4 separate regions of the Homo sapiens genome follow, and regions 2, 3 and 4 are each linked to region 1. The links are contacts of gene promoters, found by promoter capture Hi-C in blood cells and fetal thymus (Javierre and others, 2016). All regions are on one chromosome and are shown on one strand. The core of a region is centred on a gene start or on the middle of the fragment in contact, and the rest is flanking DNA. Distances in the headings are between cores, read along the strand shown. Region 1 holds the start of MR1 (major histocompatibility complex, class I-related). Region 2 overlaps ACBD6 (acyl-CoA binding domain containing 6). Region 3 overlaps QSOX1 (quiescin sulfhydryl oxidase 1). Region 4 overlaps ACBD6 (acyl-CoA binding domain containing 6).

Evidence for each region. The method cuts DNA at HindIII sites, captures the fragments that hold promoters and counts their contacts. A CHiCAGO score of 5 or more calls a contact.
Region 2: a fragment that was not itself captured here is called in contact with the fragment with the promoter of MR1 in region 1 in 11 of 17 cell types (total CD8 T cells, total B cells, fetal thymus and 8 more); the score reaches 11.7 in total CD8 T cells.
Region 3: a contact is called between a fragment that was not itself captured here and the fragment with the promoter of MR1 in region 1, in 1 of 17 cell types (total B cells). The highest score is 6.0, in total B cells.
Region 4: a contact is called between a fragment that was not itself captured here and the fragment with the promoter of MR1 in region 1, in 3 of 17 cell types (total B cells, total CD4 T cells and activated CD4 T cells). The highest score is 5.8, in total B cells.

Annotation. Positions count from the first base shown.
Region 1 is chr1:181,032,502-181,035,796 of GRCh38, forward strand. It overlaps MR1 (major histocompatibility complex, class I-related), which reads left to right and starts at 1,482. Exons shown (of 6, transcript NM_001385161.1): 1 at 1,482-1,573. The coding sequence starts at 1,507. RefSeq lists enhancers at 662-851, 1,052-1,151, 1,282-1,391. The HindIII fragment of the contact is 2,248 bases long and covers 820-3,067 here.
Region 2 is chr1:180,496,467-180,499,737 of GRCh38, forward strand. All of the region lies in intron 1 of ACBD6 (acyl-CoA binding domain containing 6), which reads right to left. Among named protein-coding and RNA genes, the nearest start is that of ACBD6, 4.5 kb to the right of the region's middle. The HindIII fragment of the contact is 4,552 bases long and covers 1-3,271 here.
Region 3 is chr1:180,159,326-180,162,530 of GRCh38, forward strand. The region is part of intron 1 of QSOX1 (quiescin sulfhydryl oxidase 1); the gene reads left to right. Among named protein-coding and RNA genes, the nearest start is that of QSOX1, 6.1 kb to the left of the region's middle. The HindIII fragment of the contact is 2,605 bases long and covers 42-2,646 here.
Region 4 is chr1:180,479,329-180,482,500 of GRCh38, forward strand. All of the region lies in intron 3 of ACBD6 (acyl-CoA binding domain containing 6), which reads right to left. Among named protein-coding and RNA genes, the nearest start is that of ACBD6, 22 kb to the right of the region's middle. The HindIII fragment of the contact is 5,657 bases long and covers 1-3,172 here.

The DNA of each region.
Region 1 (3,295 bases), core at 232-2,731:
TTCATTATTTGGCTTCTTATTTTATTCTGGGTAAAGGTAGACCTATTAGTTTCCTGTTGCTGCTATAACAAATTACCACCAACTTAGTGGCCTCGAACAATGCAAATTTATTCTTTCAAAGTTCTGGAGGACAGAAGTCCAAAAATGTGTCCTATCAGCTGAAATCAAAGTGTTGTGTTCCTTCTGGAGGCTCTAAGGAGAATCTGTTCCTTCTCTTTTCTAGTTCTAGAGGCCATCTGCGTTCCTTGGCTCATGTCCTTCTTTCAGCAATGGCATCATCACTCTGACCTTTGCTTCCATTGTCACATCTCCTTGACTCTGACCCTTTTGCCTCCCTCTAATAAGGCCCCTCTGATTACACTGGGTCCACCAGATAATCCAGGATAGCTCTCTGTCTCAAGATCCTTAATTTAATCATATCTGCCAAGGGTTTTGTTTTGTTTTATTTTGTTTTTGCCATTTAAGGTAATATATCCACAGGTTCTGGCAATTAGGTTGTGGACATCTTTGGGGCGACAATTCTCAACCTACCATACAACCGGTACATAAGGTTCTACTACCTACTAAATGCATCATAAACAGAACTTCTGATCCTTCAACAACTCTGTGAAATATATGACAGGATTTGCTTTTAAAGTTGAAGAAATCAGGCCTTGGTGCAATTTGGGATTCTGCCCATGGTCAAATAGTGGGGAGGCAAACCCAGGTCCCTGAACCCAGCTCAAGCCTGCCTGCCTCATGGCCATGCCTCCATTCACCTCTCCCCTTCATGTCTACTTCCTCTTTCCTGTCTGGGCCTGTTCCCTAGCTCCCTGGACAAGCTTAAGCTGCTGTTTTCCAGCTTGTCATGTGCTCCTTATGACAGTGTAGCCACAGCTTGATCTTGGGGATTGCTGATTGAGCAAGCTGAGTGGCTGCCCCTCAGAATCTTCTGTAGGCCTTTCTCTTGCCTTCTTTTATTCAGTAAGTGTTTTGAGCTTATTGTGCTGGGTGCTAGAGTAGCAGGGAGGACAGACCTAAGTTGAAGATTACGGGACAATCTAAGTGACACCTGCTATCTCAGACAGAGACTTCAGCATCATAGGGAGCCAGAGCAGGGAGTTCCAAGCCGTGGGAACTGTGACTCTTTCTTACTGACCCTTAAGCAAAATTCTAAGCTCCAGGGAAGCAGAGGCAGCAGCTTGAGCTCCCTGATTGACCAGATATGATTAATCTTTGTTTCTCTGTGCTTTGAACATGACTATGCTCCATAAATATTTAAAAATTGGGAATAGGGTGAAGATAGATACACCAAAAGGAGCAAGCAGTGTCTGAAACCAGCAAAGACTTAAAAGTTACCGAAGAAGGTGTTCATGCTTTCATTTTATCTTTTTTTTTTAACCTAGCAACTGATGACACTGCATATCTTCCCCTGTTCTTATTGGGAGAAGGCCTTGTGTGTCACCAAGAGGTTCTCAGAAGGGACCTGTCAGTTTTTGGTTAAAAGAACCCGGAAAGAGAAGGACTATGGGGGAACTGATGGCGTTCCTGTTACCTCTCATCATTGTGTTAATGGTGAAGCACAGCGATTCCCGTGAGTATCCCACGTCCTCTTCTCTCCTAACTCCAAAGTCGAGGCAGCCTAGAAGGCACAGCTTTTCTTCCTAAAACTTGTGGTGAAAAATATAGAAGCCAGGGGCAGAAACGTGTATGTATTACACTCAGACTCCAGGAGCAATGGATTGCCTGAACAGTTTCCCAGTTCATATTTGTAGGATTTTGATGTCACCACCTTCTGAGGGAGGGGGAGCCGTTCTAGAAAGACTCTGGAACTTCCTCACTTTCCCTCTGAGCATGGCCTCCTTTCTTTTCTGCTCATATTTTTTCTTTTACTTTTGTTTCTCCTCTTTTCTAACTTCCAGAGTCTCATGAGGATGTAGTCAGAGTTTCAGGGGCATTAACAGTGGAGTAGATCCATTGTTCAGGTTTATTTATGTTTTTCCTCAACACAAGCCCTACCTGTAATAAAAGATCCAAGAAAGATAAAACCATGGCTCTGGGTTTGTTTACTGACTGTGAGAAGTATTAATCAAGTAGAAGGGAGAGTTTTTCATTATTCGGGGAGCTCAAGTCACTGGGGAAGCAAATGCCTTCTGTTGCCTCAAATAGGGGAAAGGGCCCATGGGCTAGAACCACCAGGCTTCTCTGCCCTAATCACTTGCTCCCTGGGCTGAGGACTGGTACTGGTGGGCAGTGTCCAGAACTTAGACTTGGCCACCACCATAGGTGTGACTGATGAACATGAGAGGAAGGAGTTCTTTCAAATCACCCATGCACATAGAGAGTGGAATGACTGACCATGGAGATTTGGAAGGGCGAGGGGGGTGGATGATTAGAAATTACTTAATGGGTACAATGTGTGTTACTTGGGTGATGGATACCTTAAAGCCCCAACTTGACCACTACACAATCTATGCTATAACAAAATTGCATGTGTACATCATAAATTTATACAAATAAAAAAATTTTAAATCATATGGCTGGGAGTGGTGGCTCACACCTGTAATCCTAGCACGTTGAGAGGCCGAGGCAGACGGATCGCTTGAGGTCAGGAGTTTGAAACCAGCTTGGCCATCATAGTGAAACCCCATCTCACTAAAAATACAAAAAATTAGCTCGGCACACCCATCTCTACTAAAAATACAAAAAATTAGCTGTGCACAGTGCGCACCTGTGATCCCAGCTACTCGGGAGACTGAGGCAGGAGAATCACTTGAACCCAGGAGGCGGAGGTTGCAGTGAGCCGAGATCATGCCACTGCACTCTAGCCTGGGTGACAGAGTGAGACTCCATCTCAAAAAAAAAAAATCCATATATTAATTGTTCAAATATTGATTGATGGCCTACTATGTGCCAGGCACTTTGGGGGATATGGCAGCGAACAAGACAAACATAGTCTCTGCTTCCATGAAAATTTAATCCAGAAAGTGTCATCATTTATGGGAAAGATTGGGGGTGAGGGTAAGAGGCAGAAGATGAAAGAGGAAAGGAGGAGAGAGGCAAAGGGTGATATTTTTGGAAATAATAAAGCTTATATATTACCTGCATGTGATTCTCAAAGAACTCTCCAATAATATGGAATAATATTCCTTAAACATATTATCTCCTATGACAATCTCACTGACTATTTGTAGTAGGTGAAGAAAATATCCCCATTTAAAGATGAGGCCTAGATTTTTCTCTAGGCCTAGAGAGTGACCACGCTCACATAAGGAGCAACCTGAAGGAGACTGCAGATCTTCTGGCCCTCGGTCCA
Region 2 (3,271 bases), core at 49-2,548, 540 kb before region 1:
TAACTGATGCCTTCATCTAACCAGAATGATCTACTGACTGCCTTAGGTATTCCTAGTTCAGGGTTTTGCTTGTTACTCCACTCACCTGAAATGCCTTTTCTTCTTTCCTCAGCTTTTCAAGATGCTGCACGACCTTCCAGTTCTACTCAAATTTCAGATTCTAAGAACCCTTTCAGTCTACAATGATCTCATCTACCTCTGAATTCATAACAATTACCACCTCTATCATTTGCTTAGCGATTAATTGCATGGCCCTATGCTGTTATTAAAATGTATACTTACATAGAAGCAGCCCTGTTATGATGGAATAGAGAGAAGAAAGGGTGAAAAAGAAGGAGCCACATTTCTTGAACAATCACGATAGACCAAACACTTCACATATTTTATCTCAAATGGGCCAAAAAAAAAATCCTGCTAGGTATGCCATCACAAACTCATTTTATAAATGAAGAGAGAAGCTCAGGAGGGTTGTCTCAGTTCACACATTAGTATATCCTGAATTAGTAGTCCGGATTTAAATCAAAGAGTGTTTGACTCCAAAGCTCAATATCCCTTTACTACATCATTCTGTCTTAAATGCTAAATAGAGTCTGGGCTTCAATTCTGGACTCTCTAAAATCACATGAACTACCAGACTGTTAGAAATAATAAATGAGATAAATTATACAAACTTTAAGACATAAAAATAGCAATTATAACTATTTTTGTTTTTTATCCAGACACTATCCAGTGGCAGAAACAAATGCCAATAGTTCTCCATTTCTCCTATAGTAACAGAAGTCTCAGCTGGACACATGATCATCCGGCTAAACATTATACATGGCCATCCAACTTCTGCCTAGGTTCTGGGGACTGGATGTGTGGAAAAGTGATACAAATACCTTCCTTAAAAAGAAAAGGAGCTTGTCTTCCCCTTTCCCTTTGCTCTGGATAGGATATACATGTGGTGATGGTAAGCCACCTCTGACCATGAAAAAGGAACTTAGGGCAGCAGTTTTCAATTTTTTTAGTCTTGTAATCCCTTTATACTCTCAGAAATTAAGGATCTTAAAGAGCCATCATTTATATGGGTTATATCTATCGATATTTACCACATTAGAAATTAAAACTGGGACATTTAAAAAATGTGTATTAATTCATTTAAAAATAATAAACCCATTAGATGTTAACATAAATAACATTTCATGCAAAATAACTACATATTCTAAAAAAAATTAGTGAGAAAAGTAGCACTGTTTTACATTTTTTAATTTTTTTAATGTCTCGCTTAGTAGAAGCCAGTTGCATTTGCATATCTAATGCTGCATCCAGTCTACTGCAATATGTTGTTTTGGTTGAAGTATATGAAGAAAATTCGGCTTCACGCAGATATGTTGTTAGAAAGAGAGAGAAGTATTTTAGCAGCATTTTCAGATAATTGTAGATATTCTTCTTTGATACTATGCCAAAACCTAACAGATGGTAGTTTAAGGTCAGTTGCAACGAGGAATCTGAACTCATATCAATGAATTTTTCATACTGTTAACACTGAAATCCATTGGTCTGACTTGCACTTTGAAAGGCATCTTTTACCAACACATAATTTGTAACATCATTCCATGAAATATTTAGAAAATATGGTTTACTGAGTTACACAGACTTTTCAAATGTTGACACATTTCATGATATAACAGCAAACGTTCACATTCATGACTGTCACCACTTATCTCATCAAAAAAAGTTTTTAAGTACTGGGAAGCTGTCAAGCTCATGGTGGCAGATATAGATTTTCCAAATTTCTCATTTTCACTTGAAGGTTCAAATGTTATTACTGGCAACAAACACTTTGAGTTGTTTTCCTTGAAGTGACAGGCTTATTTCGTTCATTTTTAAGAAACTACCTGCCAAATACCCAAATTTGAGTAGGTATAATTATCTGTGAGTTGTTCTGTTAAGTAAAATTGGAAAAGAATATAGTTCATTTTGCGACTCAGAAATTACACAAGTGCTTTTCCTCAAAATAGTTAACATAATTCAGTATGCAGCAGAAGTACTTTGTGTGTACTTCCCATCTCATCACACAAAATGTAAGACTTGACTCAAGGGTTAATATTTAATAAAGTAGTATTAAGGCACGGTGGCTCATGCCTGTAATCCCAGCACTTTGGGAGGCCAAGGCAGGTGGATCACCTGAGATCAGGAGACCAGCCTGGTCAACCATGGCCAACATGGTGAAACCCCATCTCTACTAAAAATACAAAAATCAATCAGGTGCGGTGGCAGACACCTGTAATCACAGCTACTCGGGAAGCTGAGGCAAGAGAATAGCTTGAACCTAGGAGGCGGAGGTTGTAGTGAGCCCAGATTACGCCACTGCATTCCAGCCTGGATGACAGAGCAAAACTGTCTCAAAAAAAAAAAAAAAAGTATTATTAAACAGTATCTTATGAAGTCAACAGGAATTCACAAATTTTCATTACTCTCCAGTTTTCACAGCTGTCAATTAGCTATCTTTAGGAGGGAGAGTGTAGGCTGATGTAAAGAAGGACCAAAAAATTGTTCATTCGATTTTGTTAAAACTTTATTAAAAGATTATTCTGAAGCCATAGGCTTATCTGAGACTAATAAAGCTATGATGCTAAGTTTAGAGTTCTCCCTGAGAAAATAAGGTTCATATTTCAGCTTATTTTTATTATCTTCCTGCCAACAACCTCATCCAGCCTACAAAATAGGGTGCTATTCTGAATACAAAACGTTATTTTATAAATTTTGATCCAATATGCAGAAATGATATTGGACTTCCAACTTTATTATTCTATCAAAGATGCTATTCTTAACACTATCTCACAATTTTGTCAAAAATATTTAGGAGATTGATGAAAACTGCGGCCCAGTGTCATATATAAGTAAGCATATTATTCTCTAACAATGCAGAATTTTATTTTCAGATACAGAATATCTCTAAACACCATAAAGTCAAGTTCTTGAAAGGATGAGGGACATCCCTCCTTCATATTATCTGGATGAAGTGAGTATACCTGAGACAAAATGGTTCCCAAGTCGATAGGTGACTACAGTTCACTGATGACTTAGAAATATAGTATTTTAATAATGACACCAATATCAATAAACAAAGATATGTCCTAGAACGAAAAATAATATTTTCTAGGGAATTTGGGGAAAATTAGTCTCATACTGCCCAGAGAATCATCAGACATATTACAGGTCCTAAAATATGATTCTCAGTAAATATTTGTTAAATAATCAAAAGTTTCACTCTAATGTTATTAGG
Region 3 (3,205 bases), core at 94-2,593, 870 kb before region 1:
AAAAGCCTCTGTCACCCAGCTCTGCATTGCGTTGACAGTAAAGCTTAAATGCAGCTTTGCTTTAACAATGGAGCACTCACATAAGGACCTTCTCTATTCCATCTCCTGTTACTTGTCAAAAGACAAAATTACACCACATTCAAAAATCTTAACTGGCTTCTATTTGTGATTCTGGAATCGGACAACACCACATTCTGTCTTACAGAATGAGTATTCTGATGAGCTGAGCAGAGGAGTTTGGCTTTATAGACAGAAAAAGGCTGAAGAAAGTAGAAACAGATCAAAAATCTGATTGGTTATTTCGGTCCCTTTTAAAGGTTAAAGCAGAGGAGACTTCTGTATGTTGGCTGAAACTGGCTTGTTTGAAGATTTGACTGTTAACTCACTCTCTCCTGATCTTGGAAGGTCAGATCGACAGCTTAGTTTTGGCTTGGTGGCGTGGAACTTCAGCTTGAGGGACTCCATCTTGGTTTGGTCTCTTGGGCCTTGTGCAGGAGCTCAGTCCCAACCAATGGCCTCCTAGAAATATTATTTAACAGTTCTCCCCTTTTGGTCAGGTTCTCACCTAGGTGAGAGTTACTAAAACAGGGCATCAGCACTACTCTCAGTAATCATCGTTTTGGGTTTTCGGTCTTAACACATCATTTATAGGTTAAGGTGTCCTCATTATCATGCGTTTCTTGGAGTTTTATCATTCCAGCTGGAGAGAGACCATTTAGCATTCAGCAGAGGGCTGCATATAGATATTTAAGACTCTTTGAGAGGATACAGTGTAACAGGGAAACTACTGTAATGACTCTCCCCAGGATAATACTAAGAGTTTACAATATGACGCTTAGCCAGGGACCCATGAACCAAACCAACTAAAATTGAAGAGATCAAAGAATGAGCCAGATGAGGAATTTACCCTTTTTAAGCAAGTACTATTTGTTCATTTTTTTGCAACTGAGTCTCAATACACTATGTGTCTATCCATGTGCAACAGAAAGTGTCAGCAATTGCACAGATTCCCTGTTCGCTAGTAGGTAGCAGTTCTATTATCTAGTATCCCATGACTGGGTTAAATTAAAGCAGGAAGTGAGAACACATGGGTCTAAAAGTCTGACTCTATAAAAGGGACCACTAGTACAGTTTGAACAACAGTTGTGTTAGGGATGTTGCTGAAGTTACCCACTGGGCAGACTAAAGGATCCCTTTGGTCATGTAAAGATCTGGGTTTAGCGTGACAAATCCAACAGTTTGTGAAGTTACCCACAGAAGCCACTGATTGTGAAATTCTAACTACAGCATTATCCTGCCAGACAAAAAAAGGTAGATGTAATCAAGGATAAAGTGGAAGTCTTATTCCAATGAAACTCTTGTTCAGAAGTTTTGGGAAAGCATGAAGTTGTCAACTTCTTGTCCTGGTTTGCAGTTTGATTGTCTCTGGTTATGGCATTGGGCATTTTGGTGAACTCTTTGTGTAGCGTACACGTCAGGCATGAGACTTGTCCCTTGAAATGTATATCAAGTTGTTCAGCTTCTGTTTATAGGGCTTTAGGCACAGAACAGTTCCTGTTCTTAGTTGGAGAATTGTAGCTAGTTATTGGAAGAAACTGGAAGAATTCAGAATTCAATCCATCTTATAGGTAGATGATAAAAACTTGAAAATGATCAACAAGGCTACAATCTAATAACAGATGTACTATAGTTTTTCTTTAGGAACATATTTTTTCTCTCTATAGTCACCCCCATTTCTACCAAAGATAATCAGGGTAAGTGGGAGGCAGAGGTCACAGTGAGCCGAGATTGCACCACTGCACTCCAGCCTGGATGACAGAGCAAGACTCCATCTAAAATAAAATAAAATAAAATAAATAAAATAAAATTCAGACTAATTTGCTTGCAGAAAATATTTAGTCACATCAGACTTGGCCTAATTATTTACATAAGTGTGGCAAGAATAGTGATTGACCACGTAGGCTCTTCTTAAGTTTGCTTTGCTAGAACTTATCGATAAGGAATCTCAGATTGGACTTTTAACAACTTCTCAAGGCTAGGAAGTCAACCCAAGCCCAACTTCAGATTTCACCTGCAGTACCTATAGATTCATCATAGGTATATTCTCAAGTATGGCATCACACTCAAAACCTTGGTAATATGACCAGTGTTTCCTATTGTATCCTGTTGTAAAGAGAGCAGATACTTATTGAACTTATGCAAATAACAGTATTGCCATAAAAATAGGAATATTCACAAATAGTTTCTGAATTCCAGAGAGGTCTTGTAGGGAGAAAATGTTTCCATTTTTGTTCACAAGAGTATACTTACCAAATTGCTGTAAACTATAGATAGCTTAAAAGAAAATAAGTTTTCTTAAATCTGGACAACAAAACATTAAAAAGAACCAGCAACGTTTCAAATTTAAAAACCAGAAAAACCCATAATTCTTCATTAGTTCATTTAGTCTCATGTAATTAATTCTTGTTGTGCTTGATCTTGGTTATCAGTTTTGCAGACCCATCAGTTTTTTTCATTAGAGTTCTGGAAATTCTTTCCCAGTCCAATCGTATTATCTCGAAGTTATCAGAAATGGTACTTATCAGAGACGTTTCCGTGGATCTCCTTGAAGATGAAGCACTTCAGGATTATAGTTGCTTAGAAAAAAGCTTTTAGAAAAACATCAGAATAAAGCAATTAACTGTAGACAATAAGACTTAAAATGGTTGTGGTTAAAGATCTGATGAGAGTTCATAGTAATAATGACACAATTGACAAGGAAATCTGGTTATTGCTGTGCATACAACATTTTAACCTAATAACCAAAATTAAGGCTGATAATGTATCATATTTCTAGGAATATCATATAATTTTGGGGATACACCTTAATAGCAAGTATAAACATACATCAATAAATATAACTCAAAGAAGATTAAACATCATTTCTTGTTTGACAATGCTTCCCATATAATTAATACATCAAATGAGCCTAACTAGTTTAGTATCTCCCCTTTGCAGAATCTTTGAGATGTTCCAGGGCCCCCTGAAATGTTCCAAAGTTACTTCAAGTTCAGAAAGCCTTAATTTAGAATTTGATTTTGGGAAGTTTGTACAAAATGTCAAAGGTTTAAAATTAAAACACTTAATCAGCCTGGGCATGGTGGCTCATGACGGTAATCCCAACACTTTGGGAGGCCGAGGCAGGAGGATACCTTGAGCCTAGGGG
Region 4 (3,172 bases), core at 58-2,557, 550 kb before region 1:
ATGTTATTTGCAGCAACATGGATGGAACTTGAGGTCATTATCTTAAGTGAAATAAGCCAGACACAAAAAGACAAATATCACTTGTTCTCATTTATATATATGAGCTAAAAAATTTGATCACATGGAGGTAGAGAGTGGAAAGACACATAACAGAGACTGGGAGGGGCAAGTAGGGGGAAGAGGGGAAAATGAAGAGAAGTGGGTTAAAGGGTATAAACATACAGTAAGAAAGAAGGAATAAATTCAATGTTTGATAGCAGAGTAGAGGGACTACACTTGACAAAAATGTACAGATACCCGAAATGCCCTGATTTGATCAGTACAGCACTATATACATGTAACAAAATTTCACAGGTACCCCATATATTTGTAGGAAAATACAAGCAGTATGGCAGGTACGCCTGTAATCCCAGCACTTTGAGGCGGAGGCGGGTGGATTGCTTGAGTCCAGGAGTTCGAGACTGGCCTGGGCAACATGGCGAAACCCTGTCCCTATTAAAAATACAAAAAACTAGCTGGGTGTGGTGACACGCACCTGTAGTCCCAGGTATTCAGGAGGCTGAGGTGGGAGGATGGCTTGAGCCCCGAAGGCAGAGGGTTCAGTGAGCAGAGATCGCACCACTGCACTCCAGCCTGGGTGATAGAGCCAGACCCTGTCTCAAAACCAAAGAAAAAAAGAAAATACAAGCAGAAAATACAAGCAGTCTGATAGTACTGGAATCTAAAATAAAAGATGAAGAGGGATAAAAGGTGGGACTCAAATGTGGATATAAACCAGATTATGGTGGACTTTGTATATCATGCTAATTTAGCCTGTGAGTAAAGGGGAACCACTTTTAAATGGGATAAACATGGTCAGATATACATTCAGATAAGTCACGTCCGAAGCAATGTGGAAAACAGAACTCAGAGGGACCACACTCAAAACAAGGAGAATACAGGAGGCATTGCAACAGCCTAGGCAAGAGATGATGATATATTAAGAAAGAGGCAGTAGGGGTAGAAAGAAAGTGATAGATGCAGATTACTTAAAAGATAAAATTAGTGACACTTGGTAACTAATTAAATAGGTCACTAAGAAAAAGCAGTAAGAAAAGATTCAGGGATCACTGCTAGGTTTCTCACTTGAATGAACTCAGTATATGGCAATACCATTAAATAAGGAAAGAAGCAGAAGAAAGCATCTGAAGGCAGGGTAAGGGGGTAGACAGTTGATAAGTTCTATTTTAGACCTGTTGAGTCTGAAGTGCCAATGCAACACTAAACAGAAATGCTCAATAAGTATTCCAGCACATGAAACTCAAAGCCAAAAAGGCAGAGTTCTTCAAGTCAAATGGAGCTTGTAGAAGTACTTGATTAGGCTCACATTATGTTTAACTTTAAAAAAAATCAGAAGATGTCACTTAAAAAATGAGATTTCAGGCTGGGCACGGTGGCTCATGCCTGTAATCTAGCACTTTGGGAGGCCGAGGTGGGTGGATGACTTGAGGTCAGGAGTTCGAGACCAGCCTAACCGACATGGTGAGGCCTTGTCTCTACTGAAAATACAAAAATTAACTGGGCATGGTGGCATGTGCCTGTAGTCCCAGCTATCCAGGAGGCTGAGGCAGGAGAATTGCTGGAACCCGGGAGGCAGAGTCTGCAGTGAGCGGAGATCGCACCACTGTACTCCAGCCTGACAACAGAGTGAGACTCCGTCTCAAAAAAAAAAACAAAAAAAAAACAAGATTTTATATCAGATCTGGCACTACTGAGCATTCATGGCAATAACTGGCTGGAGCTAACATCCAATTCCCCTCTTTAAATAGGGCATGCACTTCACTGCAAACCACAACCTTGTGATTCTCTCTATATAAATCAAAACCGACTTCATTCATTTATGTTAATGGCTTGGCCCATGAAGGCGCTTGTTTTTGATTTTTTTTTTTTGTGACCCTGGTCTAAAAACCCTAATCCCTGATCAGGATCACAGAAAAGATCAGGGCTAAAAAATAAATTTAGAATCAATATAGACTGTGGTTAAAACTGCAAGAATGATAAGGAGAGACACAGTTTTGAAAATCATCAACACAGGCTGAAACTTGGGGCAAAAAAATACTTAATCATGCAGACTTTGTGCTTTATAATATTTCTATTACCTTAAAAGTGGCCTTTACCATACTCAAATCTTAATTCAAAATTCACTTTCCCTGTGTATATTTTAATTTCTTCAGCAACACTGTTAGTCTTTAACCAAAAATGCTAAGTTTTCTATTTATTCCCAGGTAGCTTTTTTCAGGAATTGCTAATAGCATCCTACATATCTATATGCTCTAAAAATGCTAATTAAATTAAATAAAGTATTCCCCTTATACTGAGCATAAGTTATGCCCTGGAACTTGAAGAAACAAAAGAAGAACCAGAAGGTTGGAAATACACTCTAAGAGAGAAATATAATGGATTCATGTTATTTACCCTGGAAAAGAGAATTATAAGGAAATTAGAATAATCTAGGTATCCTCTATGGTATGGCCCTGTGCTGAACTTTGTAGGTGGTAAATAGTAACACAAAGGCGAATCTGACACGGTCCTTGCCTTGAAGAGTCTATGGGCTGGATGGAGTACTATCAAGTTCGATAGTCAGGTGAATTTCTTTCTGAGATGAGAGTTTTAATACATGAGAAATATATAACTTAAAGAAATATTCTCTAGCATAAGGCACCTAGAGAACCTCAATTTAATACCTTATAGTCAACAAAAATTAGATATGAATAACAAGAAAAAAGTCAAAGGTAAATTTTTGTCAAAAACAAATCTGTTTAGTTATTTTTTTAAATATAAATTATAAAAATTATGACTGCCTTCATAGGTAAGTATAAACAACAGGTATAAATTTATCTATCTTTCAATAATTTTTATAGGTAAAAGATAACTAGCTGATGTTACAAAAACCACAGATGAATAGCAGCCAATTTTGCAAAAGGCTAGATGGATACTGGACAGCTAGACAACCACTTATTTGGCTGCTGGAACTAAAGAAAGGAGAGTGTCAGTTCTCCCATCTATGCTATTTTTCTCCATGGTCAACACACAAATAACAATGGATGCTAGTCTAAACATCATCAGATCAGTGAGGTGAAGAGAAATGAAGTTAATAATAAGATCCCGAGTAAATATAAAAGTTTTAAAGATC